Linked DNA regions of Homo sapiens: all the other regions are linked to region 1. The links are contacts of gene promoters, found by promoter capture Hi-C in human tissues and cell types (Jung and others, 2019). All regions are on one chromosome and are shown on one strand. Each heading gives the region's core, a stretch centred on a gene start or on the middle of the fragment in contact. The rest is flanking DNA. Distances are from core to core; before and after follow the strand shown. Region 1 holds the start of TNS4 (tensin 4). Region 2 has its middle 5.8 kb from the start of GAST. Region 3 has its middle 3.7 kb from the start of LINC00974.

Evidence for each region. The method cuts DNA at HindIII sites, captures the fragments that hold promoters and counts their contacts. A contact is called where the count stands out against the background at its distance.
Region 2: a contact is called between a fragment that was not itself captured here and the fragment with the promoter of TNS4 in region 1, in 1 of the 25 tissues and cell types used here (pancreas).
Region 3: a fragment that was not itself captured here is called in contact with the fragment with the promoter of TNS4 in region 1 in 1 of the 25 tissues and cell types used here (bladder).

The regions. Positions count from the first base shown.
Region 1 is chr17:40,499,326-40,503,347 of GRCh38, reverse strand. TNS4 (tensin 4) reads left to right here and starts at 1,725. Exons shown (of 13, transcript NM_032865.6): 1 at 1,725-1,814. RefSeq lists an enhancer at 3,312-4,022. The HindIII fragment of the contact is 10,438 bases long and covers 1-4,022 here.
Region 2 is chr17:41,716,104-41,720,125 of GRCh38, reverse strand. It overlaps a transcript of HAP1 not described here and the pseudogene RNA5SP442. Among named protein-coding and RNA genes, the nearest start is that of GAST, 5.8 kb to the right of the region's middle. RefSeq lists a silencer at 2,375-2,669. The HindIII fragment of the contact is 4,495 bases long and covers 1-4,022 here.
Region 3 is chr17:41,556,194-41,560,215 of GRCh38, reverse strand. No RefSeq gene overlaps it. Among named protein-coding and RNA genes, the nearest start is that of LINC00974, 3.7 kb to the right of the region's middle. The HindIII fragment of the contact is 8,519 bases long and covers 1-4,022 here.

The DNA of each region.
Region 1 (4,022 bases), core at 476-2,975:
CATAGCAAGACCCCATCACAAAAAAAAAAAGAATTATATACCATGACCAGGGGGTTCATCCCAGGTATGCAAGGAGGGTTCAAAATTCAAAAGTAAATTAATGTAATCTATCACATCCATAGGCTAAAGAAAAAATGTCATATCTATAGATGTATAAAGAAATGCCACTCCATCCATCCCTTGATGATCACGGCAAAGGGCAGTGATGTGGTGTTGGGCAGGGTTTGTGAGGCAGCTGGGGCTGAAATCACTGTTCTGAGACCATCTTAAGCTAAAGGAAGCAGCTGGGTGTGAAACAAAAGAGCCAATCTGCCAAGAAAGACCATAACCCCCAGGTATGGGTCTGTAAGGCTGGAGGACCCCCTGGCCCTGAAGAACCACTGCAGAGGCTATCCATACCAGCCCCAGGGGAGATGGCCAGGGTTACCCCGGAGTTGCCACAGTCTCTGCCCAACACTTCGCCCTACTGTAACCTGCCCCTTCCACTCAAGAAACTCACGAGTCGCCCCTCCCACTCTCCCACAATCATGAGCCACAGCCTCATGGGGGAAGCCGCCATGTGCAGTGACATCCACTCCAGGGCAGGAGCACCACATTTTTCATCCAAAGACATAATTGCTCATCAAGCCATGTGCCAACAAGGCTGCATGGACACCTAGGGACACCTTTTATGTCACCATCAGGAAGGGGCACCTTATATAACTTTCCATAGCTTTGCTCACCGGCCTCCCATGCACTAGTTCACCATGCCTCAGTGAAACCCCAGGGCATCAAAAACTGTAAGGCCAGAAGCCCTTCCACTGGGCATAATGGGGGCATGGGGCAACCCACCCCTGAGATTAGCCTACTGGGATCACCATGAGTCCCTGGGCTGGAGACTTCGCCAGCTCCCTCACTTCAGACCGCTCCCAGACCAGGCTCTGCCATCAGCACCCTCCCCTCACCATGTCTGAACACCTCCTTACAACATTCTAGGACCCCTGCCCCTCTAGAACAGGGAGAGAGTTGGAACCATGGAGAAGGAGCTACCAGACCAGACTTCTGGGCTTCCTGATCTCACCCTCCAATGTCCTCCCCTCAGGGAACTTCCACCCTGGGGCACAGACCAGACGAGGGACAGAGATAGCCCATGAGTGAAGGAACAGCTATAAGCCCCTTCTCAAAGCCCTCCAGACACTTCAGCCTCCTTTCCTTGAGTTAGAGGCCCCATCCCAAGCTAGAGTCATTACTGTAAAAGGAGAGAAAGAAGAAAAGACAAGCTCGTGCCTAGCCTTACTTCCAGTGGGCCCTTACCCTGTGCCTGTCCCAGTGTGACCCAGCACAAAGGGGGACTGCAGAGGGTCTCCTGCCCACTGGCATCCTGCTTTGTCAAGGCCCTCACTCTCTGCCAGCTCTGCCAACCCATGGCCTCTGCCCCAGCCAGCACCTGAGGAGTGCCCACTGCACACCTTGATTCTAGCTATGCCCTGTCCAAGCAAGGACTCCCTGGCCATGTGGTGCCACGAGAAGCCCAAGCAGGAACTTGGGAGCCCCTCACACACACCCAGACCCAAAACCCACCACCCAGTGCTTCCCTTCCTGCTGCCTGTGCCAGCCCCACCTGAGCTCACTGGATCCAGCAGGGGTGGGGCCTACTGCTGTCAGGGCCACGTGCAGGGCCCGCCCGGAGGGGAGGAGAGAAGGCGGGCAAGCTGCTTTTAAGGCAGGTCTGGAGGTGAACTGGCGCCTCTCCTGACTCTTCACCTGGACTCTGAGTCGTCTTGGTCCCAGGAGCCAGTAGTGAAGGCAACAGTCTGCCCACCTGTGGACACCAGGTAGGTGCCTTTATTCTTTAAGAAGAGAGGAACACGGAGCACCTTTGCTGGCCCTGATTCATTTAAACATTTTTTTTTTTTTTTTTGAGATGGAGTCTTGCTCTGTCACCCAAGCTGGAGTGCAGTGGCGCGATCTCGGCTCACTGCCAACGTCTGCCTCCAGGGTTCAAGCGATTCTCCTGCCTCAGCCTCCCAAGTAACAGGGATTACAGATGTTTGCCACCATGCCCGGCTAATTTTCTTATGTTTAGTAGAGACGCGGTTTCACCATGTTGGCCAGGCTGGTCTCAAACTCCTGACCTCAGGTGATCCTCCCACCTTAGCCTCCCAAAGTGCTGGAATTACAGGCGTGAGCCCAGCCTCATTTAACCTTTTGTCTTCAGCTTCTCCATTTCTCAGGGCTCAGAGTGAAGGTGGGGAGAAATGGGGTGGAGGATGTGGATGAGACAGAGATGGTCTCAGGATCACAGACCGCGGAGTTCAGCAGTTCAAGGGAACTAAACCTGTGCCCCTCGGCAAATAGATGAGAGAGCTGAGGGCCACAGAGAAGAGGCTTGCCTGAGGTCATGGAAAGGGACTGGACACAGAACCCAGGCCTCTCGCCTCCCAGCGCTCTGGGAGCCCTCTGGGCACTTCAGAGGTAGACAGGACTGGGAGATGGGGCGGCTGGCCTTCACTGGTCCTATGGGTCCCTGCCTGAGGTCCACGTCCTGCGTCACCGGGTCTGGGTGGGAGGGATGGGAAGATCGGGAGCCAGTTTTCAAAAATAGGGGGTGCAGTGGAGATTGGGCTAATGAGGCAAAGTGCTTTGGGGGAGACTCAGGCTTTACCCTTGCCCCACCCTCTCCCTTCACTGACCTGGGCTCATTGGGAGAGAGTAAGTCAGGAGAAGAGGTTGGCAATGACACGGAAGAGGGGATTTGCCAAGGCACCAGGACTCCCCAGAGTCCTTGGGAACAAAGAAAGAGATCTGAGTCAGAATCAGAAGTGGGAGCGGGTAGGGGGCACCTACAAATAGAGCAGAGGTGGCTGGAGCCCTCCTTGCCCCCGCCCCGTGCCTCCCAACCACACAGAGCCCCGGGCCCAGGGACTCTCCCCACCACTTACAGCAAGAAAGAGCAAGTTAGAGGAGTGTGCGGGGCCGCGAAGGGGGCAGCATTCAGGAATACAGGAGTAAGATGGAGCCCTGCCTTGGTACATCCAAGGGCGACGCAGAGCCTTAAAAGTGAGGGGAGGCTGAAGAGGAGCGTAGGGGCTGCCTGCCCTTTGCTCAGCTCCAGGTCTGTCCCTCTTGGTTCCAGAATCCCAGAAGGGGCAGCGGTGGACAGGGTTCTTAAATATGTGAAGCAGCAGCAGAGGCTAAAAGTGTGGGACCGTGGAGCAAGACCACCTGGGTTTAAACCCCAATTCACAGTTGGGGTTGTATGACCTTGGGCAAATTCCTCAACCTCTCCAGCCCTGCAGCAATAGCACCCTCCTCAGAGAGCTGTTGAGAAAATGCAAGGTGTTCAGTGTCTGTTATTATCACATCCCCATCACACAGATGGGACAACTGAGGTCTGCCCAGAGAGGAAAGGACGCTTGCCCAGCGTGGCACAAAAGCTGTGTCCAAATTAGTAAGCAGGTATACTGGGTCCTGGTTGCGAGGGGACACCCAGCCCTCCTTGAGCTCTGCAAAGTCAGCAGCCCCAGCCTCCTCTGCAGGACACAGCCAGAAAACCCTGCAGGGAGCGCCCAGATCCTGTCCCAACAAACCCAGTCCACTTGGAGCCTGTGTGGAAAAAGCCGTGGTTCCGGCTCTGTGTCCTCAGCTGTCCCGGGAGGGCGGGAGCGCAGAGGCCGGCTCCCTTCCACTTCCATTTATAGAAAGCTTCCCGTGCCCGGGATGCCCCGCCCCCTGCAGGACCTGGCCAAGGAAAAGTCTGGCATCAGACCTACCGGAGCCACGGGCGTTGGGGGAGGCAGGAGAGGGGAAGGGGCCCTGGCTTTTCTCATGAAACCTGTGCGACCTTCAGCCAATCATGCCCCCTCTCTAGATCCCAGGTGTCCCTCTGCACTTGAATTCCATGTGGCATTGTAGCAGGACGAGCCGCAGACAAAACTCCTCAGACACCAAGTTAAAGAAGGAAGGGGTTTATTCGGCCGGGGGCATCAGCAAGACTCCTGTCTCAAGAGCCGAGCTCCCCGAGTGAGCATTTCCTGTCCCTT
Region 2 (4,022 bases), core at 937-3,436, 1.2 Mb before region 1:
TGAGGTCAGGAGATCGAGACCATCCTGGCTAACACGGTGAAACCCCGCCTCTACTAAAAATACAAAAAATTAGCCAGGCGTGGTGGTGGGCGCCTGTAATCCCAGCTACTTGGGACGCTGAGGCAGGAGAATGGCATGAACCCGGGAGGCAGAGCTTGTAGTGAGCCAAGATCGTGCCACTGCACTCCAGCCTGGGCAACAGAGTGAGACTCTGTCTCAAAAAAAAAAAAAAAAAGTTAAATATCTGGAGACAACTTTATTTTTTATTATTTTTTTGGTTTCCATAATTTGGACTTATTTTATTGATACTCATTAGTGAATAAAATGTTGATTTTTGATGCATTACAATACACTTTTTGGTAGTGGTTGCACAATGTTGATCATTTATTTGTTTACTAAATACTGCAATCTCCAAATTGCCTTTTTTTTTTTTGAGACAGAGTCTCGCCCTGTCTCCCAGGCTGGAGTGCAATGGCGTGATCTCAGCTCACTGCAACCTCTGCCTCCTGGGCTCAAGCAATTCTCCTGTCTCAGCCTCCTGAGTAGCTGGGATTACAGATGCATAACACCATGCCCAGCTAATTTTTGTATTTTTAGTAGAGACAGTGTTTCACCGTATTGGTCAGGCTGGTCTCGAACTCCTGACCTCAGGTGATCCGCCTGCCTTGGCTTCCCAAAGTGCTGGGATGACAGACGTGAGCCACTGCGGCTGGCCAAATTGCCAATTTTTACATGGTATTTCTGGCAATGATGGTGGCTCGTCTCTCTGAATACATAAAATGGTCCATTCAATCCATGGTTTTCATATTCCTTTGTTATTCTATCTACTGCTTTAAAATACATTCAGGCTGAGTGCAGCGGCTCACACCTAGAGAATCCCAGCACTTTGGGAGGCTGAGGCGGGTGGATCACGGGGTCAGGAGTTCAGGACCAGCCTAGACAACATGGTGAAACCCCACCTCTACTAAAAAGTACAAAAATTAGCCTGGCATGGTGGTGCCTGCCTATAATCCCAGCTACTTGAGAGGCTGAGGCAGGAGAATCGCTTGAACCTGGGAGGTGGAGGTTGCAGTGAGCTGAGATGGCACTACTGCAATCCAGCCTGGGTGACAGAGCAAGACTCTGTCTCAAAAAAATAAAATACATTCAAATAAAAAAATATAAGTTACTTGCAACAAGTGCACACTTAGAACAGCGAGGAGAGCTGAGAACATAATTAACCAGTACTCTTGTGTTCAGAGCATAAATAGTCTGAAACCGTGGGACTGAAGCTTGCTCCTCATAGACTTTCTCCAAGTATCCTTGGTGGACGTAAGGTTACCCTCACTCAACGGAAGGACACATCTGCTGCTGTGGTGGGAGGACACAGAATGACAATTTCATTTACGTAGGACGTTTTCCTTCCATAATGTCTGGAACAAGTCGGAGACAACTTTAGACCCCTTTCAGCCTGGAGTGGCACCAGTGCAATCTAATAACAAACTTGACTCACTAGCCTTTATCTACCATTCGTTTTCCATATAGCTGCTTTCCCATGCACAGTTAGCCACCCTTGGAAGTCTAACCTAGGCTGGAGCTTGGGGGCCTGGACCTCAGCCCTCTTCTGGGACAGGCGGTAGGAACCCCAGCCCTTGTTCTGCAGCTGGCACAAGAGCTGTGACTGCCGGATGTGGGTCACATGGCAGCCCAGGGGGGCAGGAGAAGCCGGGGGAGGCCCACTGGCTACCAGACCCAGCCCTGAGAGGGGACAGGGCTCAGCTCCCACGGGCAGAAAGCTGTTTCCCACACACAGTTAGCCACCCTTGGAAGTCTAAAAATTGCTGTCCTTTATCTTGCCTACAAATGTATTGTTCTTTGTTGAAGATGCTCTGTGAGCCTGAATTCTCCCATCTGAGTACTAACCAGGCCCCACCGTGCTTAGTTTCCAAGATCAGACAAGATCGGGCGCGTTCAGGGTGGTATGGCCGTAGACAGTGTGAGCCTGAATTCTAAGCTACCTCTCTGAGTTACTCAACTCTGGGTACTCTGTGTGTTAAATGTGTGATACACATGTTAATAAACTTGTTTGCTTTTCTCTTGTAATCTGTCTTTTATAACAGAGCCCCAGCCGAGGACCTAAGATGGGTAGAGAAAACACTTTCCCTCCTCTACAGCCCTCAGGTGGCGGGTAGCTCAAGGTAATGGTGTCAACAGGCACAAGAACAATGATGGAATGGAGTGAGACACCAGCAATGCCTGCACCAGCCACTCATGAGCAATTATTTACAAATATTTATTGGGTTCCTCCTATTCTTGCCACCGGGGATACAGAAGGGAGGAGGGACTTGTCACGCTCCCAGTTTCCTGTTTTGCCCGAGAGGCAGACAATAAACTGGCAAACAAAACAACTACAGATTGTGAAATGTGTTCTAAAGAAAATATTCTGCTATTGTGAGACAAAGCAACAAACATTAAGAAGCTGTGTTTGCTCCTTTCTGCTTGTCGGCACAGTTTCACAAAGCACCTGACTCTGTGACTAGAGACAGACGTGCAGCCCTCCGGAAAGATGCTTTGAAGACAGCACAGGAGAGAGCCTGAGGCCCTCCCATGTCTCTTGGCTGAGTCACTACTTTTCTTTTCTTCTTCTTTTTTTTTTTTCTTTGAAAGAGAGTCTTGTTCTGTTGCCCAGGCTGGAGTGTCATGGCGCAATCTTGGCTCACTGCAACCTCTGCCTCCCGGGTTCAAGCAATTCTCCTGCCTCAGCCTCCCGAGTAGCCAGGACTACAGGCACATGCCTGGCTAAATTTTGTATTTTTAGTAGAGACGGGGTTTCACCTTGTTGGCCAGGCTGGTCTCGAGCACCTGACCTAAAGTGATCCACCCTCCTCGGCCTCCCAAAGTGCTGGGATTACAGATGTGAGCCACTGCGCCCGGCTTGAGTCTTCACGTTTCTTAAAAGAGAAATAATCCTAGTCCCTGGCTTTTCTGACACAGAACATTTCCAAGATGACATCTGACGAGGTTAGTGATGATGCCTCTGTGATCTAGGACCCAAATCTTGCTGTGATTCTGCTGTCATGTAATTCTGAGCAAGTCTGATGGGATTTTGCACATACGGAACCTCCACCTTTAGCCCCCAGATGTATATAAGCAATGGGCTGAAACATTGTGCCAGAGCCTGCTCCTGGGCTGGAGGCCTCAATCTATAGTCCTCTGTAAGACTTCTGAATACAACTAGCATTCATTCTTTAAAAAGCTTAATTTTTTCTCTTTTATTTGACCCTGTGGTAGAGAATAACTGGGTCTATGTGTGAAGGGTGAGGAGCAGAAAGGGTAGGTCTCTCAGGAAGAGGCATTTCACCCAAGAGCTAAGGAGGAAAGGGGAGCCCACCATATTTGTGCCTGGGGAAGAGCGTTGCAGGCACAGGGAATGGCAAGGTCGGAGGCTCTGAGCAAGAGAGAACATGGCGTGTCTGTGTAAGGGAAAGGACCGAGAGGACAAAGAGAAGGAAGCCACTTGGCGCACAGTGGGAGGAGAACCTCAGGGCTAGCTTTCAGGGCTGTGGCAGGGAGTTCAGGTTGTATTCTAAGTGCACTGGGAAACATTGCAACGTTAAAACCGAGTGTGACACGGTTTATCTTTTAAAAAGCTTACTCTGAGGCTGGGCACGGTGGCTCATGCCTGTAATCCCAGCACTTTGGGAGGCCGAGGCGGGTGGATCACCTGAGGTCAGGAGTTCAAGACCAGCCTGGCCAACATGGTGAAACCCCGTCCCCACTAAAAATACAAAAAAATTAGCCAGGTGTGGTGGCGGGCACCTGTAATCCCAGCTACTTGGGAGGCTGAGGCAGGAAAATCGCTTGAACCTAGGAGGCAGAGGTTGCAGTGAGCTGAGGTCTCATTATTGCACTCCAGCCTGGGAGACAAGAGCGAAACTCCATCTCAAAAATAAAATAAAATAAAAATTAAAAAAAAAGGTTACTCTGGCTATGAACCCTACCATATATTATCCTGCCCATACCTGTGGATTCTCGTTCAATGT
Region 3 (4,022 bases), core at 1,109-3,608, 1.1 Mb before region 1:
TGGTTTGGAGCCAGCGTCCAATCATCCCTAAAGGCCTGGGTATTTTCCTTCCCTCAGGAGTCAGCTATTCTTGTAAATACCCACAGATTCCTATGGGAAGGTCAGGGTGGCAACCCCTGCCTTCTGGACACCCAGGTTCTTGTCTGGTGTCCAGGAAGAATCAGGTCACATGAACTGTTTGAAAGGTGATGAATGCAGAAGATTTTATTGAGCATAGGGTGGCTCTCAGTGGACGTATAGTGCATGCTTGTGATGTTACTGCAGGGCCCTTCCTCAAAGCCTCCCCTTCATTCAGAGTTCTCTGGGTCTATGAGCCAATTCCGATTTTGGAATTGGAATCATGGGGCTCAAGACAGGTCTCTTACTGACCTAAAGTTTTCTTTTGTGGGGGCGGGGTAGTGAATGTGGCAGATATGGAAGACTGACTCACTCCTATCTGTTTCAACATCCTTCTGATGAGCTTTCCTATACTCAAGAGGCTGGTAATCTAAAATCTACCCTTTTCCAGATTCCCCTACAGCCATAGCTTAGGTTTTTCCAATCAGATGCACTCTGTGAGTCATGAGTTGAGTGGAGAGAGAAGTAGAGGGGGAAAAGTTAAATGCTTTTTCTTTGTGTAGGTCTGCCAGGTATACTGTATGGTCCTGGGGCCAACATGTCTGGTAGTGGCTTCCTGATTCCCAAGTTTTCTGATTGTGGCAGACCAAGAGTTCCCTTGGGGTCCACTTCTGTGGTGTTAATATGGAAGCCATGCCCAGAAGCCCAATATAGAGTCTGTTTCTTCAGCCTTCTAATGATTTTGCAAGCACCTAATGCCTTGTATTAAATTTATTTCTGTTAAGAAAGTGAGATTGGTTTCTGTTACTTAAAGCTGAACCCTAGCCGGGCACGGTGGCTCATGTCCATGATTCCCACACTTTAGGAGGCCAAGGCGGGCAGATTACCTGAGGTCAGGAGTTTGAGACCAGGCTGGTCAACATGGTGAAACCCCATCTCTACTAAAAATTCAAAAATTAGCTGGGCATGGTGGTGGGTGCCTGTAATCCCAGCTACTCGGGAGGCTGAGGCAGGAGAATCGCTTGAACCTGGGACGCGGAGGTTGCAGTGAGCTGAGATTGCACCCCTGCACTCCAGTCTGGGCGACAGAGTGAGACTCCATCTCAAAAAAAAAAACAAAAACAAAAAACCAAAAACCAAAAACCAAAAACCAAAAAACTGAACCCTGACTGGTGGTCTGCTCATGTATTTTTGTCCTAGAGACCCACCATCACAGACTCCTACAGATTTTATCCTAGTCCAGCTCTTCACCTTTGCCGTGTTGTACCTGAGATGTCATCTCCATTCAAATCAGGAGGCCTAATTCAACTGCAGCATATTTCATCCACATCCTCAGAGAACAACTGTTAACTGTGTTTTTCAAAGATGCTGTGTTCCCCCGATCCACGTATTTCTTAAAAGCCAGAGTCTGCACAGTGTCTTCTGGGCTCTCACAGTTGGTGAATGAGTGAATGGATTCCACGCAATAATTCTACCCCAACATTCCTGTCTCCCTAGGCAGTCAGATTCCTTTTTCTTTATTACAAAAAGGATTTTCTAGAAATAACTTTATTTCAAATAAGCCTTTATTGAGTTCAGTTTCTGTCATCCAACTGAGCAACCATTCTGATCCACTTCCAGATATTTAAGCTAGTAGCTGAACTTCCAGTCTCTGGTGAATGCTTGCACATTAACTGAGCTGGTTCAAAAATTCATTCCCAATCCCAGTCTTCACATTTCTGCTCATACAGGTTAGCAGCAGCTTGAAATTCTCCTGGTGTGTAAATCTTTTTCTCTAAGCTTTGTCTTTGTAATTGGCCTCTTCCCCCAGGTATGCTGGCATCTGGCTTATTTATAATTCTGAAAGCAATGAAGGGTGGTAGGGTAGAGTGTGAAGATAATTTGGAGTTTGGAGTCTATTAAATTCTCTAATACCTTCCTGTTCCAATTCTGTGGGTGTCCCTCTTTCCTGATCAGTGCTCTAACTTTTATATAAGAGACTTGGCAAGGTTGTGATTTCAACTTGGAGAAGTCAATTTTGAGTTTATTAACTACTTCAGCATTGTAGCTACAAGAAATGAGATATTTTTAAAGAATAATTGTGGACAGTCCCTGGTCCTCTGACTGTCTACAGAATCAGGAACTTAGAACTTCAAGTGTATTACTCCTTCTCTAAGCTCTTCAGTACAGTTAAAAGAAACAAGCCCACTCCAATTTAATTCACATGCTGTGGGCTTCTAGAAGCTCATTTTAATCATAGCCAGATTTTCACTGGCCCATCTAGGCCAGATAACCAAAGTGATTCTCATGTCATTCATTCAACAAACTTCACTGGATAAATATGTATCAAGCTCCTTTTATGCCAGGCACTGTCCTAGGTGCTTGGGATATATCAATGAACAAAAGAGACAAAGATTTCTGCCTCTATAGAGCTTGCATTATAGGTAAGGGTTGGGCAAGAGCAACAAATGTAATAAAGAAATAAATAATACTATACTTGAAGGTGGTAAGTGCGCAAAGAAGTAGGGAATATCAAGGGAGATTGGAGTGCTATGGCAGGGTGGGGAGGAGAGCAATGTTAAATAGGATGGCCAAGGTTGGGTTCACTGAGAAGGTAAAACATAAGCAATGACTTTGCGATGGAATAGTTGCCCTGACGCCCTTCATGGGCGGGAACTGGAGCACTTTGTTTTTTGTTTTTGTTTTGTTTTTTTTTGAGACTGAGTCTCGCCCTGTTGCCCAGGCTGGAGTGCAGTGGTGAGATTTCAGGTCACTGCAACCTCCGTCTCCCGGGTTCAAGTGATTCTCCTGCCTCAGCCTCCCGAGTCGCTGGGATTACAGGCACGGGCCACCAAGCCCGTCTAATTTTGTATTTTTAGTAGAGATGGGGTTTCTTATGTTGGGATTACAGGCACACACCATCACGCCCAGCTAAGGAGCACTTTGTTTCACTCAGCCTGTTGCTGGCCACTCCTTGTGGGAGTGAGTGTGTGAGCAAGTGTGGGAACCGGAGCAAATGAACGCTGGAACCAGCCGGTTGCTCCTCTCTGGCAGGAGCAGGCTCTGTTCGGGCCCTGCAGCAGCGTCCCTATTCTTTCAGCTGTGCTGTCAGGGGATGGCCAAATACCAACCAGTTCAATGGAGGTTCAGGGTGGCAGCCCCTGCCTTCTTGGCACCCAGGTTCTTGTCTGGCGTCCAGGAAGAAGAATCAGGTCACATAAACTGTTTGAAAGGTGACGAATGCAAAATACTTTACTGGGTGTTGGGTGGCTCTCAGTGGAAAGGGAGGATGGAAAGGTGATGGGATGGTGATCTTTCCCTGAAGCCCCACCGTCTCCGGCAGGGCCCCTCTCCAAAGCTGCACCATCTGAAGTTAGCCAGATCTATCCACAGTCTCCGATGCTCAGTTGCTTTTCTGCTCGCCGCTCAGCTGCTTATATCCTCAGTGCTCAGCCGCTTGTGTTGCTCTGCCAGCTGAAGTCTTTTATGGGCACAGCATGTGGGCAGGCAGGCCAAAAAGGTAACATTTTTGGGGAAAATGGGGTCCTTTAGGGCCGAGGTTCCAGGCTTAAGGGTAGGGTTTAGCCAGGAGCCCAGCCCTTCTGTATCAACTTGACGGAGTGAGGGAGGCAGTCAAGCGTGTGTGGGGACCACTCCAGGCACAGCAGCTAGTGCTGATGATCATCCTAACACACAGTGCCTTGAGCAGAGGAGTGACAGGCCACTTGATGAGAGGCTGCGAGGCTAGGAGCAGAAACAGAGAGCCCAGTGTGCAGGGAGGTGAAGAGCCCCTGGCACTCAGAGTGAAGACGGTCAGAGGTGGCTGGATTCTGAGCATCATCTGAAGAAAGCACTGCCAGGAGTTCTTGAAGGACTGCATATTGTAAAAGAAAGAAGTCAAGGAGGTCTCTGAGTCTTTTGTCTGAGCAACTGGATGATAGGAGTTGTGGGATGGAAGTTGGCTGGTATGAAAGATGGGGAGTCAG